Regions from separate parts of the Homo sapiens genome. Here region 1 is linked to region 2. Evidence: promoter capture Hi-C in 16 types of primary human blood cells and fetal thymus (Javierre and others, 2016). All regions are on one chromosome and are shown on one strand. Each heading gives the region's core, a stretch centred on a gene start or on the middle of the fragment in contact. The rest is flanking DNA. Distances are from core to core; before and after follow the strand shown.

The links. The method cuts DNA at HindIII sites, captures the fragments that hold promoters and counts their contacts. A CHiCAGO score of 5 or more calls a contact.
Region 1: a contact is called between a fragment that was not itself captured here and the fragment with the promoter of PATZ1 in region 2, in 1 of 17 cell types (neutrophils). The highest score is 5.9, in neutrophils.

Annotation. Positions count from the first base shown.
Region 1 is chr22:30,954,243-30,960,108 of GRCh38, reverse strand. MORC2 (MORC family CW-type zinc finger 2) reads left to right here. Exons shown (of 26, transcript NM_001303256.3): 2 at 1,415-1,468; 3 at 3,312-3,346. Among named protein-coding and RNA genes, the nearest start is that of MORC2, 12 kb to the left of the region's middle. The HindIII fragment of the contact is 8,448 bases long and covers 1-5,866 here.
Region 2 is chr22:31,342,422-31,348,053 of GRCh38, reverse strand. It overlaps PATZ1 (POZ/BTB and AT hook containing zinc finger 1), which reads left to right and starts at 1,708. Exons shown (of 5, transcript NM_014323.3): 1 at 1,708-3,722; 2 at 5,094-5,157. The coding sequence starts at 2,452. LINC01521 (long intergenic non-protein coding RNA 1521) reads right to left here and starts at 1,295. Exons shown (of 1, transcript NR_120386.1): 1 at 1-1,295. RefSeq lists silencers at 1,203-1,422, 1,473-1,542, 1,913-2,332, 2,883-2,952 and enhancers at 3,773-4,310, 4,311-4,849, 4,850-5,387. The HindIII fragment of the contact is 6,732 bases long and covers 1-4,279 here.

The DNA.
Region 1 (5,866 bases), core at 1,740-4,239, 390 kb after region 2:
GTAATCCCAGCTATTCTGGAGGCCAAGGCAGGAGAATCACTTGAACCCAGGAGGTGGAGGTTGCAGTGAGCCAAGATTGTGCCATCGCACTCCAGCCTGGGCGACAAGAGCGAAACTCTGTCTCAAAAACAAAACAAAACAAAAAAATTGCATTTGTAAAAATTTGGAGTTACTTGAGGAAGAAAAAACAATATTCCTGGAGAGTTTAGTTATGGATATTTATTTAATAAATGTTTTACATTTTGTTTGCAATATGGTAAGCGATCAGAGATCCTAGATGCTGGTTATTTACTATTGATATATTTCATTTAAAAATTCTTACTTTAACTGAAAATTGGCTGAAACTTTTTACTTTGGCTGAAACTCTATGCAAAAAAGTCAGAGTAACATGGATATTTTTGAAAAATTGATGGTCATGTATTATGTGGGTTAATATTGTATTTAATCAGAAGTCAAGTGTTTTTTTTTTAGGTGGTTCTATGTGGACACATCCTAATTTGATATCTCATGAGGACTATTGTGGAAAAGAGCACAAATTAAACAGTGTAAATTGCACATGCTCAATGTATAACTTGTTAGCATTTTGTTTTACCAATACTTGTGCGTCATCTACCAGTGAAGAAAGGAAACTCATACACTTTTGTGTAATTTATAAGCAAAAATATCCCATTTGAAAGAGAAGGTAAAGAGAATAACTCATTTTATGACTTTCTCAGATTTTGGCTAAAACCAGAACTTTCCCTCCATTAAAGAAAGTAATCGAAGACCTTTTCCAACAATTCCTTCTAGGATGACAAGAGCTTGCTTGGTGTGGTTGCCTAGGGCCCCTGTTAACATTAACCCCTTCAAGGAGGGGAACCAGTGGTCATCTCCTCTGGGAGGCTGCTCAAAGTTTGGATTGAGTAAATACACAGTTATCATGTTATTCAAAACTTACTATACTCCAGTCCGAGTGACAAGAATGAGAACCTGTCTCAAAGAAAAAACAAAAAACAAAGTTCAATATTTATGCATAAGATATATCCTTAAAATTCTTGCTCTGAGATATGCAGAAACTGACCACTGGTTAAGGCAATGAAAAATAAAATATACAGGCATTTTTCTAGGCAGGATATGAATAGTGAAAAACACTTTTAGCAGTTACTACACATAGGACTCTTTCAATGCTTCAGGGTGGGTTTCCCAACTCAAAATAGGAAGAATAATCATTTCTGAATAGATGGCAGGACTTGTTAAAGATTAACAATTGAGGGGAGTTGGGGAGCTCTGGAAAGCCTTGAGTAGTATAAAAACAATGCAAATGGTGGTTTTAAGATTTTTTTCAAAAAACTTAAATATTTTATAACCATGGCTTTTTATTAGGAATTATAACTTCAATAATTCTTTTGCTGACTTTTAGTATTTATCATTTCAGAACCACTCACGAATTCTTGTTTGGTGCCCTTGCTGAACTGGTTGATAATGCAAGGTATGTAGTCTTCAGGCATACAATCTGTGCTTGAAGTGGAAACACTTTAGGTAGCTGTGACCTTTGCTCTCTGAAGACTTGAGAGGAAGACATTTCTGTAGAATGTAGACATTCTGTAACTCCTAGGATGCCTCTTACTAAAAATAATATTTTTAATAGCACATTAGTTGATAACTTCCACTTTCTTACTTAAATTCACTAATTGTTCTTTGTGTTCTAGCCTAAAAATAGTGAGTTATCACCTCCAAAACCACTTCCCTTGTGTATTAGAGCAAGATAATTGTAGTAAAATGCAAGGAATTAAGATAGACACTTAGGAATCATATTAATGAGACAGGCAGGCTCTGATTTAATTTGTGCTAGCAGGATAGTACACCATCTAATGTCTTTAAAACTATGCCAAAGTTCTGTGTCTTCTCAAATTGTATATTTGTCAGATAACTAAATGATCACAGTGTCTTTCATTGTTAGCAGCTGTGCTTGGAAGGAATCATTGGTCAGCACTGTCTTATACTGAGTTCTTAGTGATAGAAACATGTAAATGTTACTGTGTAAGACTGAATAGAAGTTTGGGTTAGTTCTGATGTAAATCCAAGTCCATATCAAGATTCTGTTTATAATTAGGAAAATAGTGTCTTAGTCTTATTCCTGAATGCAAACATAAAATTCAGACACATTTACTGACTAGGTTTTGATGACTAAGGAAGGAAGAGGAGGATGAAAATTGACAGCGGAAGTACTTTCAAACAGATCTCCAGTTAATGTGCTCGCTGATAATTTCCTCTTTACCTCTGTGTATACAATAAACTTATTCTAATTACTTTTGTTGTTGTTATTAGCTGGACTGCTCATGGAAGTGTGCTAGTTGTTTAACCAGAAAACTCCTGTTTTGTTTCAATCCTGGTTGACTCATCATTTTTCCATTCAATTAAAAAGTGTTGTAGGTTAATGGAACTGTGTTTGAATTTGCCACTTGTTAATTTAGTGAGACCATGATGTGCGGTGGCAGGCTGCTTTTTTTGTGTATCATATGGTAAAATAGAGATTCTTAGGAGTATGTATTCCTACTTGTGTATACATTTTGCCAGTATCTCTCATATTTGAAAATGTTTTAGATATTTGAGAATAGGTATATGTAGAGCTGTGTGGATTTTTTGCATGTAAAACCAGTGAAACGGTTTCATTTTCTTTGCAGTTGGCAGAATTGGACTAAATTACTTCTGAGCCTTTATGGAAGTCTTCATTGATAACTGAATCTGTATGATTTCAGCCAATGGTTGGAGTCTAATGGGGCAGGGGTATCCCAACTTCCTTTCAGGTTTAGGGAGGTTAAGATTATGGGCTCAGGAATCAGTCTGCTGACTGCAGTGTGTATACCACGAGAAGTGATTTTTCACAGGTTTTGTGGGAGATTATTGTCTTCCTTTTTTCTTAAAATATTGACGAGAAGAAAAAGTGGACAAGTTATTGGAACATCTTTTTATGATTGCAATCAAATGAGTGAGAAAAACATATTTGAATCATTTCTTAGGGTATAAAGGGAAATATTCTTGCTTATCCTATAGATGTTTTTACCACAAAATCAGGATTTAAAAAAAATATCCAGGCCCCATGTCATGTGATCATCTTCAATAATTTGGGGCTTCAGAAATGTTTTACAGATATATAAAGAAAATTGTGTTGTCAAGTATAAAAGTAAAAAAAATTCTAAATGTCTATAGAATTTCTGTATGGCTTCCTGAAAACAGACTCAAAATACTCTGCATTCTACTCAAATCACTATGCATTTTGATGGTTGATATTTCATATTAATTCACATGATTCTTTTCTTTTCACTTTGCAGAGATGCTGATGCCACCAGAATAGATATTTATGCAGGTAAGTCAGGCTTTAGTCCTTCTAATGTCTAGTTCATCTTAATGCATTTATTACTGTGCCTAAGAAGAATTGAGTGGGAAATAACTGGATTCGGGAGCCTGGGAAGATGGCATGATTATTCCAGGTCATAGGTAGAAAAGGGGCAGCCGTAGTCAGGTATGGTCAGCTCTGGTCAGGCATAGAAACCAAGAATATTGGTTTCAAGAAACTAACACAAGGTATCCAAATCTATGTAAATAGCTACTAGTAGAGTTATGGAAGTGATGGAGTGGAACAGTAGAGAGTGAAATGACCAAGTTATTTTACTGGTAGGCGTTAATAGGTGAACGAGGTTTGTGGTACCTGCAGCCAAGGAGAGATCTTGTTGGAGGCCACTTTGTTTTGAACTCTTGGTGAGCACTAGTCTCAACTTGGAGAATTGCTGGTATCGGTTGCGGAAAATAGCAGTAACTGGATTGGCTCTGAGGTTTGCTGAGTTGTTCTCAGAGGTGTCAGGAAGGAAGGCTGCTTGGCTTGGAATTTACACCTGTCAACATCCTATTTCGTTTTGCTTATTTGGCTCTGCTGTTTTGTAGTAAGATCTTCTCCTTTTCCTAGAGTGAGTGCAACAGTCATTGGCCTTTTAATTAATTAACTCATTAATTTTAATAGTTTGCTTTCTGCCTGGTATTTGTACTAGCACCTTTTTTAGTCATTTGAATACTAAAAATTTGAAAGCAGAATGGAGGAAGACAGCTTTTTTTTTTTTTTTTTTTTGAGATGGAGTCTTACCTTGTCACCCAGGCTGGAGTGCAGTGGCACGATCTTGCCTCACTGCAACCTCCATCTCCCAGGTTCAAGCAATTCTGCCTCAGACTCCCAAGTAGCTGGGATTACAGGCGCCCACCACCACACCCGGCTAATTTTTTGTATTTTTAGTAGCGACGGGGTTTCACCACGTCGGCCAGGCTGGTCTCAAACTCATGACCTCAGGTGATCTGCCTGCCTCGGCCTCCCAAAGTGCTGGGATTACAGGCGTGAGCCACCACACCTGGCCGGAAGACAGCTTTTAAATACAATTCGACTAGTGTGATGTGTTTTTTTCTGACAGACTTTTCTGAAATCCTCTGAAATGTGTGAGGTGATATTTTGAGTAGCATGAACTAGGTTCTGAGAAGTCTGTATGTTTACATGGGAATGAAATAACCCCTCTTCATGGACCCTTTTGATGAATGGGAACAAGCACACAACTAAGTAGTAATTCTCAGAACCACTAATGTCATATAATTATGAAGAATCTGCCCCAGATTTGATGAATTTCTCATGTCTGCTATACTTTGGAGCAAAGAAAATCCTCAGAGCAGCTAAAAGTCAGCTGTACTGCTTCAATTCTGAAAGCCTTTTGTTCAAAAGGCTCTGCCAAAGTGGTAAAAATAAGGCTTCTTTTCTCTCTAGAAGAAAGTAACAGGAAATAGGGGCACACAGGAAAAGAATGTTAGAAGATGATTACTAAATGCTCAGGCCAAGGCTGGGCGTGGTGGCTCACACCTGTAATCCCAACACTTTGGGAAGCCGAGGCAGGCGGACCACCTTAGGTCGGGTGTTTGAGACCAGCCTGACCAACATGGAGAAACCCTGTCTCTACTAAAAATACAAAATTAGCCGGGTGTGGTGGTGCATGCCTCTAATCCCAGCTACTCGGGAGGCTGAAGCAGGAGAATCGCTTAAACCCAGGAGGTGGAAGTTGCCATGAGCCAAGATCGCACCATTGCACTCCAGCCTGGGCAACAAGAGCGAAGCTCCGTCTCAAAAAAAAAAAAAAAAAAAAAAATGCTCAGGCCAGATGGAGGTGCCTTTCCAAGCCAAAGCATGTATCTTACATCTGAGTGTGCTTTCTCAGGAATGGTAACAGCTACCGCTGGAAAAATAGGGCTTATTTAATCAATGCACAGATGCTAAAGCAGAGAATGGGCCTCTTCTCCAAGTGATGTTGAAGGTACAAATCGTAATGGTCAAGTCTACTTGGAAGACGTTTTTTAAAAAAGATCATCTCTGCTGTCTCCTACTACATTTGGTGGGTAAATTTCAGCAAGGAAGTTTAGTTCCTGACACTCAGAATGAAGTTGGATTTCAATTTAAATGAAAAAGGACCCAGTGTGTCTTTATTCTGTGCTCAGTACAACTCCTGTTATGCTTTGGGAAATGTCCAGAGAGGAGGAGATGGGGGTCTTTGCTTTAAGAACTTAGTCTTTAATTGGAGAGACAATTAATGCACTATGGATAATTAGAGAACAATAACTAGATCTTGAGGGAACAGTCAAGACAGTTAAGGATTAAATGGTGTGATAGAAGCACTAAGCACCATAGCATTTTGGAAAAAGACTTGATTTACTTCAAGTACCAGGAGATTGGGATTCTTGGCTAAGGGATCTTTAACCCTACACTTTTCTACCACAGGGCCTTGTTAACACATTCAACAGGAGAAATCAGTCCGTGGAATCTTTTTTTTTCACCCAGGCTGGAATGCAGTGTGCTATCTAG
Region 2 (5,632 bases), core at 459-2,958:
AAACGTGCCAGTTCCCAAAATCCGCCCAAGAAAGCTGTGGCTCAGAGAGGGAGGCACTAGCCTAAGGTGACAGTGAGTCTGGGCTTAGAACACAGATCTCCTGGCTTCGTGTCCAGGGAACTTTCTTCATGCCTCTAATTCATTCTCTCCAACAGGAGTTTGGCATGTACTATGCCCTAGAGCGGAGGTGTGCAGGACAGGTGCTGCTGTCCCTGTGCACAGGTTAAGAAACAGTTTAACTGAATCTCAGGGAGGCCAAGTGACTAAGCACCAGGACACGAAACCAGAAGGCAGAGGTCTCGATTTTGAACTCGGATCATCCGCCAGGGCAACGCCCGGAAGCCTCAGGGCGCGCGTGGCTGGGCGCGAGCTCGGCGCGCAGCGGTGGGAATCCCGAGCGGAGTTGGAAGCCGGGCCCGTTCATTTGCATGCTAATACCCAGAATGCTTTTCCCCCGCACACCGCTTCTCTTAATGGAAGCGCTCAGTTTGGAACCGTGGAAAGTTTGGAACACATACTTCGCTGCCTCTTTGCAACTGTGGGAACTTCCCGCCCGCACACGCGGCGCCTGCAGCCTGGGGCTCCGCGCCAGGCGGCCCAAAGGCAGCCGCCAGCGCTTCCTGGGAAGACAAACCTTGGTGTACAACTCTAGCGTGGTAGCATCCCCGGGCGGGCCGGGGACAAAGCGCCGAGGCCTGGCGGCAGGGCCCATTACCAGAGCACCCGGCGTCTCACAGGGCTGCGGGCGCTGGGGATGCTCCGGGCTTGGAGAGGCCTGAGGGTGTCCCCGACTCCTCCGGCACCCCCACTTCCCTGAGGATTGCTGGGGCTTCCGGGGGTCCCTGCCCCGTCCATCGCCCTCATATTGTCGCCTCCCGGAGCTGGTGACTTCACGCTCCCCGGGGACAAAGCTCGGCGTGCTGTGGTTTGGGGGAGAAGCTGGACGCTGGCTTCATCTCTCCAGCTCTTCCGGGCGCGCAGCCCATCAGATCGATCAATGTACCGGGTGCAGAAGCAGCTCCGGAGGTTCGGCCTGTCTCCGGCCAGGACCCCGGGCCCTCTCTGGTGTTTGAAGCAGGGAGGCGGTCGCAGGCGACTTCTGGGAATTTCACGCATGAAAGCGGGGCTCCGAAGGGTGGACGACGCCCGCTCGACCTGCGAGTGCGCTTCGCAGGCTGGGGGGCCCGGATCCGCACCCCTCAGTTCCTGCCCCCCCACCCTGCTAGCCGCCACTCTCAGCGGGCAGGGGAGGGGCAGTGGGAGCTGGTTTGCTGGCTCGGCGCTTCGTTTGCATTGGTCCGGGGGGGCTGAGACTGCAGCCCCCGGCCCCGCGGGCGGGGTGGGGAGGCGGGGGCCGGACGGGGGCTCAGGCTGCTCTAGCATTGGCGGATCTGGGGAATGGGGAGGGGGGGCAGGAAGCGGGGGGAGCGGACTGCGGGGGGGGGGTGTATAAATAGGGAAGGGGGGACGTGCATCCTCGTCTTGGTGAGGGGGGGGCGCTCGGCACAAAGAAAGTGTAAAGTTTGCAGCGCCAGGCGGCCCGGGCTAGGCATCCGGGCGCGCACGTGCAAGGCCGGGGACGCCGGGGCCCCCACTCTGAGCTCGCCGTTTCTTTTTTTTCTGCAAGCGAGAGGGGGGGTGTTGTTGGTATCGCCCCCTCCTTCTCCTCCCCCCAGGGGTGAAAGTGCAAGAGGAAGTGCAGCCGCTGCCATCTTTCCTCCGCTCCGAACACACGGAGCCCGGGGCCGCACAGCCGCCGCTCCGCCGCCGCCTTCTCCCGGCCTGAGGAAGGGCCTACTCTGCCGCCGCCGCCGCCCGCCCGCTCCAGCCGCCGCCGCCGCCGCCACCGCCCTCCAGGCTCCGGGACCCGGCCCGCGCCACCGCCCCCGTGCGCGCCCCGCCGCCGCCGCCTTCGCCTTCGCCTTTTGTTTCCTCCGCTCCGGCGCCCCCGCCCCGGCTCGCGCTTTGCAGGGGACGCAGCGCGCGCCCCCAGCGGGCCCGGGAAAAGCCGCGGCGCGCGCGCGCGCCTGCGCGGCGGACCCCTCCTTCTCCTCCCCGCGTGCGCGTGCCCTTCTTGGCTGCGCGCCGGCGCCGCCTGGCGGGCGGGAGGGGAGGTGGCAGGCGCGTTTGCAGGAGGGGCGCACCTCTTCGCTCGCGCACCCCCCCGGAAGGTAGACCGGGAAGGGGAGGCGGGCGGGCGGAGAGGAGAGAGTGGCGCGCAGTCCAGCGAGGGCGGGGGTTGGCTATGTGGGGGGTGGTGCACCCCGCAGTCTAGACAGTCTGATCCGGGCTGGGGGCGTGTACACTCGGCGCACCTGCGAGACTACAGAGCCTCGGGCCGGCACGTGTGGGGAGTGTGGACACGTCTGCTGCGCCCCGCTTCTCGCTGCTGAGGGGAAGGGAGGGGGCGGGCAGGTGCAGCGGCCGGGCTAGTGGGAGGGGGCGGCGGCCATGGAGCGGGTGAACGACGCTTCGTGCGGCCCGTCTGGCTGCTACACATACCAGGTGAGCAGACACAGCACGGAGATGCTGCACAACCTGAACCAGCAGCGCAAAAACGGCGGGCGCTTCTGCGACGTGCTCTTGCGGGTAGGCGACGAGAGCTTCCCAGCGCACCGCGCCGTGCTGGCCGCCTGCAGCGAGTACTTTGAGTCGGTGTTCAGCGCCCAGTTGGGCGACGGCGGAGCTGCGGACGGGGGTCCGGCTGATGTAGGGGGCGCGACGGCAGCACCAGGCGGCGGGGCCGGGGGCAGCCGGGAGCTGGAGATGCACACTATCAGCTCCAAGGTATTTGGGGACATTCTGGACTTCGCCTACACTTCCCGCATCGTGGTGCGCTTGGAGAGCTTTCCCGAACTCATGACGGCCGCCAAGTTCCTGCTGATGAGGTCGGTTATCGAGATCTGCCAGGAAGTCATCAAACAGTCCAACGTACAGATCCTGGTACCCCCTGCCCGCGCCGATATAATGCTCTTTCGCCCCCCTGGGACCTCGGACTTGGGCTTCCCTTTGGACATGACCAACGGGGCAGCCTTGGCAGCCAACAGCAATGGCATCGCCGGCAGCATGCAGCCAGAGGAGGAGGCAGCTCGGGCGGCTGGTGCAGCCATTGCAGGCCAAGCCTCTTTGCCTGTGTTACCTGGGGTGGACCGCTTGCCCATGGTGGCTGGACCCCTATCCCCCCAACTGCTGACTTCCCCATTCCCCAGTGTGGCATCCAGTGCCCCTCCCCTGACTGGCAAGCGAGGCCGGGGCCGCCCAAGGAAGGCCAACCTGCTGGACTCAATGTTTGGGTCCCCAGGGGGCCTGAGGGAGGCAGGCATCCTTCCATGCGGTCTATGTGGTAAGGTGTTCACTGATGCCAACCGGCTCCGGCAGCACGAGGCCCAGCACGGTGTCACCAGCCTCCAGCTGGGCTACATCGACCTTCCTCCTCCGAGGCTGGGTGAGAATGGGCTACCCATCTCTGAAGACCCCGACGGCCCCCGAAAGAGGAGCCGGACCAGGAAGCAGGTGGCTTGTGAGATCTGCGGCAAGATCTTCCGTGATGTGTATCATCTTAACCGGCACAAGCTGTCCCACTCTGGGGAGAAGCCCTACTCCTGCCCTGTGTGTGGGTTGCGGTTCAAGAGAAAAGACCGCATGTCCTACCATGTGCGGTCCCATGATGGGTCCGTGGGCAAGCCTTACATCTGCCAGAGCTGTGGGAAAGGCTTCTCCAGGTGAGGAAAGGCCCCCTCTTCCTCCCCTGCCACACGTTATCTTAGTCCTGAAAAGGCTCCTGCCAAGATCTGGGGGTGTGGGATTTGTGGGGGTCATTTGACCTTATAGAACCATGCCAGGTTTGGGTAGAGTGTTTTTAAGGGCCCTTATTTTGAGATGGTATGCCTGAGACCTGCTTTCCATTCCCTCAGGGAAGTTTTTTTGACGCTAAGTGTGCCCTACTGTCTCTCCTCCTGGGGCCGGATTCCTCAGGCCAGAGCCACCGGACCTCACCATTCTTCCCCCAGGGCTCCCTTTGTGTTTCCGGCACCAGGCGTGGGGCCCCCTCTGGGGGCGGGAGACTGGGCTCCTCCAGCGACTTCCCCGCTTGAATGGCTGCCGAGGGAGGTACTGGAACAAGTGCATCTGGGACTCCCTACACTCTTGAGGCACCAGATTCCCCAACACAGAACACTGGCCATCCTGATCAGTAGACTCCAGCTGTGCCTCTCACACCACCCTGGGATCATGGGACACAGAGCTGGTCACCCAGAGCTGCTGCTTAACACCAAAAGCTTTGATCTGCTCTGACCTGGTAGCTCTAGAGCCTAATGGGACCCACGAGCCCCTTTATGTTTTCAGGACAGAAAGGAATGGGGACAGGATCTCTATGTAGGTTCACTTTCTAGTTAGCCTGTTGGGGAACTGAGGACTTGTCTGGGAGCAGAGGGTGATTTTGTTTTTCTCCTAAAAGGCCGGTTTTAACCTGGATTGTAGGACCTTGTGTGTGTGAACACAGGGATGGAGAACTCCCTCAGAGGGCCCCGACCAGGAACCAGTCTTACCGGTCAGGCAGCCCCTGCCCACCTGCTCAGGCGGGCATCTGGCTTACCAGCCCAGCTGGGGACTTAAGGCTCCACTGCTGGCCTCTGGGGACTGAATTCCATCCGGGTGGCATTCATTGGCTGCCCGTGGCGGGAGAGGCTGGGGGAGGGGATTGCTGAGTTTCTAAGGGGCTTTAGTCTGGACAATGAATCACATATCCCCTCCTGGAAAGGCTGCAGTGAGGCAGCTCTGTTTCATTCTACTGCCACCGCCTCTGGTCCTAGAAAACACTGAGTTTCTGGTGGGGAGAATTGAGGGAGTGGGGAGGCAAAATCAGAGACAAATGCCCATTTCTCTTCCCCCCTCCAGAGAAAACCAGGGCAGAGAGGCCTGGGCCTGTGGAGCCAGAACTGGGTGGTGACTTTGTCTTTGTCATGCTGGGGTTGGGGAGAGGGAGTCCTTTCCAGCAGTGAGTGTGTGTGTGTGTGTACACACGTATGCATATGTGCCTGTGTGGTGGGGTCTGGCCAAGTTTCTAAAGTCCCTCTTGGTTCTCTCTTTTCCAGGCCTGATCACTTGAACGGACATATCAAGCAGGTGCACACTTCTGAGCGGCCTCACAAGTGTCAGGTAGGGGCTGGGTCAGGGCAGAGATGGGCTGAAGGAGATGATGCTGTTCTCACGGTCGCAGCCTTGAGCCAGCCGCTGCGTGTGCCGGGGGCCCGGCTGACCGCCCACCGCTTTGCACACCTCCCCTCTGTTCCTCCACCCTCCCTCTGCTCTCCTCCTTTGTTCTTCCCCCAGGCCCCCTTCCCCCACAGCTGACGTTCCTCCTTCCTGGTTGCTTGGTCCTGGTTCCCACCCTGTCTTTGCCTTCACTCTGTTGCTTGGCTTTCCTCTCCTGGTGTTTGCCGGCTCCTTGGATGGTGGGCCGTATCACACAGATGTTGTGTTGGGAGACCCGGCACTGCGCTGGGCCTGACTGTTGGTTTCCAGCAGTTTGTAGGGACTGCAGGTTTTTTTAAAAGGGCTCCTGGTGGTCCAGCCAACCACTCTTCCCCTTTTCTGACCTCAGTTAGAGCTCCTCCTGGGTCCCCTCAGCTTA